Regions from separate parts of the Homo sapiens genome. Here region 2 is linked to region 1. Evidence: promoter capture Hi-C in 16 types of primary human blood cells and fetal thymus (Javierre and others, 2016). All regions are on one chromosome and are shown on one strand. The core of a region is centred on a gene start or on the middle of the fragment in contact, and the rest is flanking DNA. Distances in the headings are between cores, read along the strand shown.

Region 1 (4,568 bases), core at 606-3,105:
ATTCAATTTTTGTCAATTATCACACTAATGTCTATTTTCTGGACCAGAAGCCAATCCAAGGATATAACACATTGCATTTGTTGCTGTGTAACTGTGTGTCATCTAAAAAGCAGACGCTAAGATGGGAGTAAACCTGCAAATATTTTATTAGGAGAAATGCGTGTGTGAGGGAAAATGGGAGGGAGCTGATAAAAGTTACAAGCGCCTCAGACTTCAGTGTAAGTCTAACACTGAATGGAGGGAAGTAACAATGGGTAGACCCCTCTTAGACAGCCATGCAGTATAAGAAATGTTCAGCAAGAACCCGTGGGGAGATTCTCAGGAACAGGCCTGCCACTGTCAGTGGCTAGGAGCAGCCCATGGGAAGCATGGCCTCAGTGCAAATGGAGATTTCAGAATGCAGGAGATTAAGATATGTGAGTTACATTCTCATGTCAAAGTTGTCATGTCCCCCTTAATCTGGGACAGTTTCTCAGTCTGTCTTTTCAAGACCCTGTCATTTTTGAAAATACTGGCCAAGTACTTTGTTGAATGTCCCTCCATTTAGATTTGTCTAATCTTATGTGATTAAACTGAGGTTATGTATTTTTGGCAAGAACACCACAGAATTGATTAGGCACCTTTTCAGTGCATTGTTATCAAGAGGTAAATGATGCTGAATTTTGGTCACTTGGTTAAGATGATGTCCACCAGGTTTCTCCTCTGTAGTTACTACTTTTCCTTTATAAATATCTCATGAAGACAGAGTAGAGGCTACAGAAATATGCTTTTCATCATACTTTTGCCCATTGACGTTAGTATCCATTGATGACTGTTGTCTGAAACAACTACTGTGGTGTTTACCAAATAGTATTTTCTATTTCCATTATTCCTTCTACAATTATCAATCGGAATCCTGCTGTAAGGAAGTTTTCCCTGCTGCCCCATTTACTTGTTTATTAATTATTTATTCTTAGTAATATGGATTTTTAAATTCTACATTTTATTACTATCCAATATTGAAGATTATACTACTTATCTTGCAAGATTTCGTCCTGAGGATTAAATGGCTCCTGGTACATAGTAATCACAAAATTAACACTAAACTTGGAAGATCTGGGTTCAAGACCCAACACTGCCACTTATTAGCAGGAAGATACTGGCCAAGTCACTGAAGTCACTTTGGTTTCGTTTTCTTAAACTGTATAAAGGGAATAATAATATCTACCCCAAAAGGTTTGTTCTGACGTCTATGTGACTTAGCGTGAAGTCTTCAAATACACTCTAAGTATTAAGGACTCAAAAGTTCACCATTGTTTTAAAAGTTGAGTTTGTGACAGGATTGAATAACTGTGAGATTAAGGTGGCAGACACCAAAAGAGAGCGTGCTCTTTGCATGAAACGATCCAGGCAAGGCTCTTTTAACAGCTACCAGGTGGCAGGCCATGTCCGCGGGTGATCTGGGGGAAGCGCCCCTCCCCCGACACGGAAGCTCCGCGACAGGGGAGGCTGCGTGGGAAGCTCGCGCGACCCGACCCCAGGAGAGCGCGCAAAGCCTCTCGCACTGAGTTACCGGGTCTGGTCCGGACACTCCTTACAGCCGCCAGCCCGACCGCGGGCAGGGCCCACGGCCTGCGGAGCCTGAGAAACGCGAGCCGTACCTGCGTTCGCAACAAGGCGCCTTCCTGGGATCCCATTCCTCCGGAATACAATCCCAGCTCTTGGGCCTCGGGGAGTCATGCTCCTACGGGGCGACTGGGAAGCCAGTGCATCCCTGACTCACCTGAGAACCCGGGGCCTGGACACAGTAACCGCAGCTCAGAGCAAGCCAGCCTGGTAAGCTCCTGCCCATCAGCTGCCCAGCAGCCGTTTCTGCGCCTGCGGGAGAGCCATCGCCGAGCCGCCGTCACTTCCGTCATTCAAACCGCCCGCCAATGGCCGGACCAAACCGCGGGAATAGGCCCTGTCCCGCCTTCCTCGGGGGCCGCCGGGAAGGCTGCGCGGTGTTAAAAACCCCGCGCCCCGCGCACGCGCACAGGCACGCGCCAGCCCCAGCCTGCCTAGGGGCCCATTATTTGTCACACCTGTCAGGCTTTGACGTTTTCCCGTATGGGCCGCGCTCGGTGGCTCGCGCCTGTAATCCCAGCACTTTGGGAGGCCAAGGCGGGAGGATCACTTGAGCCCAAGAGTTCGAGGTTATGTATTTTTGGTTATGAGTTCAAGACCAAGTCCTTTTAAAAACATGGTGAAACCTCATCTTTACAAAAAATACGACAACAGCAAAAATTAGCCGTGCGTGGTGGTGGGCGCCTGTAATCCCAGCTACTCGGGAGGCTGAGGCAGGAGAATCGCTTGAACCCAGGAGGTGGAGGTTGCAGTGAGCCGAGATCCCGCCAGTACTGCACTCCAGCCTGGGCGACAGAGCCAAAGCCTGTCTAAAAAAAAAAAAAAAAAGTGCAGAGCCATGAGGGTGACTTTTGTTTTAAGGCCCCATCATGAAGATATCTTGGGATATGCATCCTTTTCTGTACTGACTACGGAATTCATTGGTACTATTATGCGCAGTTAACGTCTTATAGCTTTCATTTAAGGCCTCCAGCTCATAACAACAATGAGCCGTATGTTACCCTGTGCCTCCAGAGGTACAGCGCACGGAGAGCACCTCACGGATTTATCTGCTGTAAATAACCAATAATCAGGCGGTGAGCACAGGTTAATACCTATTGAGTATCTGTTATGTGCCGAGTACATTATGTTACTCTGGATGGATTATGATGCCTATACTAGATTTTGCAGTCTGGGTCATGGGGGTTAAACATCAGGAATCAAAGGATTAAAAATGGGGGGTGGGGATGGGAAGTTGCTGACACGATCAGATCTGGCTGCACAGTGGGGAAAAGGTCAGAGAGAGTGAAGACAGAAGGCCGTATACTACTACAGAAAGTGAAAGATAATAGCAATGAGAATGGAGAGAGGTGAGTAGATTGAATAGGAAGCCAAACATCAGGAATTGGTGGTTACCTGGTTATGGGAGGCACAAGAGGAGAAAACAAGGGTGATGCCCAAGTCCCAGATACCTAGCACCTGGGTAGATAGTGATAACATCCTCCTGGAACACACATGAAGAGAACCAGGAGGGAGAAGTAATAAGTTAAGCTTTGAATATTTTGAATTTGAGCTGTTTATGAGATATCTAGACAAAGGGATGCATTTCAGAAACTTAGGACACAAAATTAGCAGTACTTGACAAACAATTGCATGTGAGATTGAGAGAAAAGGGAAAGTGAAGTTGATTTCATAGGCCACTAGCTTGGGTAGCAGTGTTGATTCTTGATTGTAAAGGGAGAAATCAGAAATGGCAGTTAAGTGGGTAGGGTGATGAGCCAAGCTCTGTGTATATTGAACTTCATGTGCCTGTAGAACATCCAGTGATGTACTGTAAGCAGATGAATACATCGGTAGATAGCCCACAGAAAGAACTAGGCTAAGCATAAAGGGATTTCCTTGTTACATGAGTAATAACAAACGCTAGCGGAATGGATGAGATCACTTAGGGAGAATTTGCAGAGTGAGAAGAGCAATGAGCAAAGAACCAAACTCCGAGGAACACCAAAACTTAAAGGGATGGAGTAGGAGGAAGGAAGGTACAGGAAGAAATAGTGTGATTCCACCTCAGATTTACAGATCAGGATACTGAGTTACAGAGAGATTCAGCAACTTGGCCAAGGGCACATTTCAGTCAAGGGTGAACCAGGACTAGAATTCACGTTTCCTTCCCAAATATTAGGGTTCTTCTCAGCCTCTCTCCCCATTTCCTGTCACATTTATCTTGAAGAATATTTGTATTCATTTTAAACATTTTTTCAGCATCCTCCATACAGGCACGGAGATACTCTTCCATACCCGATAAAACATGTGCATATTATTTCATCCCTTGGGCTAGGTTTAGTGCCTGGACATGGGTTCCTGCACATGCTGCCCCATGGCACTTAGGAGTTCTTATTGAAATGAGCTGTTTAGAGGGCTCTCTATTGATTACACTCTAAGTTTCTTGAGAACCAGGAGTGCACTTTGTTCAGTTGCCTGGCATAAATGAACAAAGCTGAATAAATGACCAAATTACATGCTTCACTTCCTCAACCTGCATCCTTGGCAGAAATTCTACACTTGGAGATTTTGAATCGAGACTTGTTCTGTTTTTAATAGAAGGCAGTGAGGAATCAAAGCCCAAGTGGGCTTAGAGTCAGAGCATCTGGCTTAGCATTACCACAGATACTTTCTAGCCGTGGGACCTCAAATCAATGAGTCTTCATTTCTGTTTTGGCGATCAATTGCTGCCAACCGAACCACCCTGGAATGTCCAACATGGGTCACTTACTATGGCTGGCAGCTGACGTTGGCTGGCAGCTGAGAGCTCAGCTGGAACTGTTGACTGGAGTGTCCACTCATGACCAGTCCATGTAGATTGGACATCTCACTCTATTGTGGCTAGTTTGGAGAGGGAGCATCTTAAGAGTGAGCATTCGCAGAGGAATAAAGTGGAAGCTGCAAGTCCTTTAAAAGGTGAGGCAGAGAACGAGTTGTAGTAA
Region 2 (4,568 bases), core at 714-3,213, 880 kb before region 1:
GAGTAATATTAATTGGTAAATCGTTTTTTTCCCATAGAGCAAAAATGGGTGTTTGAAGAACTTACTCCCATGATGCGGCAGTCAAGGAGATGCACAGTAGAGGATCAAAAAGCTGACAACTTGGCCTCCCCTGGGTCGCTTCCAGGGGAGCGCGGCTTCACCGCTCGAACCAGCTGGCCAAGTTCCGTATGCTCTTGGGCCGGTCCCCAGCCCTCTGTACAGCCTGGCACACCCGGCACCAAGGCTCGTCCCAGAAGGAGGTGATGTGGACAGCGTAGCTCCGGCGCCAGTGGAAGTAGCGGCGATAGACCGCGGGGTTGCGGTCGAGGAAAAGCAGGTACGAGGCCAGGGAGGAGGCACTTGGGAAGTCGTCCACGTGGATGAAGGCGCCGCGGGGCACAAAGCGCTCGTAGTTGGCACGGTCTGGGCCCAGCACCACCGGCACCGCCCCAGCGAGCAACGCGTTGCGCCAGAGCTTCTCGGTGATATAATCCAGGTGCTGCGAGTTCTCGAAAGCCAGGTAGAACTTGTAGCGGGCCACTGTGTGCAGGAGCCCAATTTCGGGCACCGGCTGCCCCGGCCCGCCCCGGCCGAACACGTCCACGGTCACATGTTGGCTCAGTTGGTGGTAGTAGCGGACCCGGGCCTGGCGCTCGTCCCAGTGGCTCACCACCCATGCCACCAGCCCCTGTTTCCTGGACAGTGGCGGGGCCAGGCCTGAGGGCGGGTCGCCGGGGTGGCTTCTGGGGTAGAGGTAGCCATAAGGCACAAAGACGTCCGAGTCCGCCCGGTAGGAGAGCGTCCAGTTGAAGAGGTTACTTGCCAGGCTTCGCAGCCCCGGGGAGTGCGAGGGCGACTCGAAGTTCATCCAAACCCAGCGCTGGCCCGGGGGCCTGGGGCTGGAGGTCGCCAGGGCTTCTGCCGCCGCCGCTGCCTCCTCGTAGTCCAACACGCGCAGATCCACCTCCTCGGCAGTGTGCGCCTGGATGCCCCAGGGCGGGGGCCAGTCGGGGGGCCCCTTCACGAGGTCGCGGTGGTGGAAAAGCACGGCCTGAGCCTCTCCGTAGGACGCGCGGTCGGTGAGCAGGCGGCAGCCGCTGATGTTGAAGCGCAGCCGGCAGTCAGGGGGCGGCCTCGGGGCGCTATCGCGCCCCCCGAAGGGCTCCCACCACAGCAGCACGCCCACCGGTCGCGACGGGGTTGGCGACGCCCAGGGCAGCGGCGGCAGCTGCCCCCAGCAAGCGTAGGTGATCAGCGCCGTACACGTCAAGCCGGCGGCCGCCAGCACACAGACGGTCCATGGCAGCCCCCGGCCTCGGCGCCACCCGCGCCGCCCGCCCGCCGCCGCCGTCGGCGAGCCCCACGGTGCCCCCATGGCGCGAACAGGCAGCGCTGCCTCCGCTCGCCACGCGTCCGCAGGCGTGGAGGAGCGGCACCGGCTCTCATGCTGTAGCTGCGGCTCCAGCCGTCGCTGCCGCTCGCCGCTGGCCCGGGAATGGAAGGGGGCGGTCCCAGAATGCAAAGGCCGCGGGCCCTGCCCTGCTCCTCCCAAGTGCCGGGCGGGGCGAGCCGCCAGGGCAAGGTGAGCTGGCCAGGACGCCCAACCGGGCACCGCCCGTCCCTTTCTTCCACTGCGCCCGGGGCCCAGCCGGCCCGACCAGGCCCCGGGAGCCTCCTGCGGCGCCTCCGCCCACTCCTTCTCCCAGCCCGCGCCCGAGGGCTTCCGGGCCGCGCCCCACAAGCGCCTCATCCGCTACTCTTGATTCTCTCTCAACTGATCCGGTTTCCCTCTGCGCGCGCCCACCGCCCTGGCCCTCGCTCACTGTGGCCCGAACCCTCGCCTTCCAGAGGGAAGGCCCGGTTCATCCCTGGGAAGGTACAGGAGGCTCGAGACCTTCTAAAGCAGCTGCCGCGCAGGAGCAGGCCCTAGAACAGACGGAAGGCGGACCCGGCGCCGCGGAACGGAGGATAGCGTCGGCTTCCTGCCGTTGGGCCTAGCCACCCGCCAGCGACGCCCGCCGGAGGGAGGGATTGAGGGAGGGAGGGAGTCCAGAGGCCGGGGGAACGTGCGAGCAGAGGCGCGGCCACCGCATCCGTGGCCAGGATCTCGTGGCCCGCCGAGACGGTCGAATTGTGGAGGCAGCCCGCAGCGGCGTGGCCTTCAGAGTCTCTGCATTTGGTGAAGAACTTAAGTTTTCAATGTGAGTGCTCATAAGAACATTTCCTTTGCCTGCCAGCCCAGTAAAGGATAGAGAACAAAATGTTTTCTTAGCAATCAAAACATGTTCTTTCCTTTGGTCCCCTACCAAATAAGTCTGACTTGCCGGCTCATAGTAGTATTGCTTGTACCAAGACGCACAGGACTCATAAACCAAAGATGAAGATGTGACCCCCCCAAGGCCCTTGTCGTCAAGGAATTTATTGCCTGTTCAGTGAGATGAATGAATGAATATCACTATTAATTTTACCAAGCACTTAAAAAACATTTTCTGCACCCATGAAAGTTATGCAAAATAGTTTGGATGATAAAATGATGACGAAGATAAATATTCTAGCACCCAAGTTAAGGGTGTAAAGACAGTATCGCACTGGCCTCTTCTACCTTATTAGGCGACACTGGAGACATCTACGTCTACAGTCACTTGAGAAATTTTTTACCTACGGGTTGAATTTGAATTTCTGGGTGTTCGCTTTGGTTTATGATATTCAACTTTTATTCAGGGGATTTCCAAATAGATCAGGGGCGGGGCTGCTGACCTAAGGAGAGGAGAAAGTTTTGAGAGAAGTTTTAGTAGATCACAGCTGTGCATCAGTGGAGTCCCACTGATACTAGGGGAGAAATAGACAGTGCTGGGAATGGGGCAATCCTGCCAGGTGTTTTTGATGTTATGCCTACAGAAAATAAATTTGCGTTAGCCATATGAATTTAAGAATGTTTTCATTAAAAATCAAGTATAGGCCAGGCGCGGTGGCTCACGCCTATACTCCCAGCACTTTGGGAGGCCGAGGCGGGCGGATCCCGAGGTCAGGAGATCGAGACCATCCTGGCTAACACGGTGAAACTCTGTCTCCACTAAAAATAAAAAAAAATTAGCCAGGCTTGGTGGCGGGCGCCTGTAGTCCCAGCTACTCGGGAAGCTGAGGCAGGAGAATGGCGTCAACCCAGGAGGCGGAGCTTGCAGTGAGCCCAGATCGCGCCACTGCACTCCAGCCTGGGCGACAAAGCGAGACTCCGTCTCGGAAAAAAAAAAAAAAAAATCAAGCATTGTGTGTAAAAGCTTCTATAAAAGTGGCTTCCGGGTGGCGCTCTCTGCAGGGCCACAGCCTCAGTTTGGAGACTAGATGGAGGATGTTAGGTGTTCTGGCTAGGCCCATCAACCTAGTAACATTTCCTCCTGCACAGTAAAACCTTTCATAATGCTTCTGGGGTTTTTTGTTTGTTTGAAAAACAGAAATTAGAAATCAAATATTTTATTTGAAATTAGACATTTCAGTGACTTTTTTCCACTCTTACTTTTAATTAAAAGAAAAAGCTATAAATGCACAAATTACTTGTTTAAACGAAATAAAGGAAAAAGTGTATTGGCTTCTCTTTTTATGCAATTCAAGAATCCAGCCATTTATTCACATTCTTCTCCCTCTTCAGTTAAATAAGACATCACAGATAGAGCCTAACATTGTGTCTGGCACGTGGCCGGTAGGCATTTGGGAAATATTACCCTGCTTGATTGCTTCCTTCCACCACTCCCGATTTTCTCTTAAGCCTCCGAATGTTCCAATTAAGCCATCTTTTTACCTGAAGAATGCCCGAGGTCTCATGCATATCAATTTTCTTTGTGCCCTCTTACCTCGGTAGGGTTGAGACCACAAACTGCCCCTACTATACCCTTATTTGATGTGGGAGGAGGGGATACTAGGTAGTAAGGTGTGTCTGGATGAATGGAAACCAGTCGTGACTTCGCAAATTGCTGGTTGAAGGTCATACGTGATCATTGTGCATCTCATACATGCACAAACATTCACAGGGGACTGGATTGTTCTTATTTTAAAAGAGCCATTGGTAGGGTAGAGGAGAAGGAAAGGGAGGAAAGGAGTTATGGGAAATTAATAAATTTACTCACTTGTTCATTTAACAAATTGGGAAACAAATGCAAAACACGGTTTCTACCTTCAAAAATCTACGAGAGAAACAGATAGTGGGGAGGGAAGGGATCATGGAAGGCTTTGAGGAGGTGGCTCCTGGAATAATTAGGAATCATTACAATGCAGAGGAAGAGGGCTGAGGTGTTAGTTGCCACAGAGGGAGCAGCACTGCAGAGGCCAGGGAGGGAAGACTGGGGCAGTAGGCGAGGAATTACTAGGGTATAGTTTGGCGAAGGAGATGGTGTTTATCCTGCAGGCTGTCGAGAAAGTCCTTGGAAGGCTTTAACAAAGGAAGGAAGCGATATTCATTTTTAAAATGAATTCTTATTTTTATTACGTATAAGGAGGGTGAGTATATGGATGGGGACACGGGGGGGCTGCGGAATGCTGACTGTTAATGTAGGCTCTGGTTAATGGGTGTGTTT

Evidence for each region. The method cuts DNA at HindIII sites, captures the fragments that hold promoters and counts their contacts. A CHiCAGO score of 5 or more calls a contact.
Region 2: a contact is called between the fragment with the promoter of FUT4 here and the fragment with the promoter of CEP295 in region 1, in 1 of 17 cell types (total CD4 T cells). The highest score is 5.4, in total CD4 T cells.

Annotation. Positions count from the first base shown.
Region 1 is chr11:93,658,969-93,663,536 of GRCh38, reverse strand. CEP295 (centrosomal protein 295) reads right to left here and starts at 1,855. Exons shown (of 30, transcript NM_033395.2): 1 at 1,763-1,855. RefSeq lists an enhancer at 1,732-1,861 and a silencer at 2,022-2,091. The HindIII fragment of the contact is 3,556 bases long and covers 1-3,137 here.
Region 2 is chr11:94,541,316-94,545,883 of GRCh38, reverse strand. It overlaps FUT4 (fucosyltransferase 4), which reads right to left and starts at 1,963. Exons shown (of 1, transcript NM_002033.4): 1 at 1-1,963. The coding sequence starts at 1,750. The coding sequence ends at 158. PIWIL4-AS1 (PIWIL4 antisense RNA 1) reads left to right here. Exons shown (of 5, transcript NR_135093.1): 5 at 38-552. RefSeq lists an enhancer at 1-386 and a silencer at 1,206-1,775. The HindIII fragment of the contact is 5,462 bases long and covers 1-3,280 here.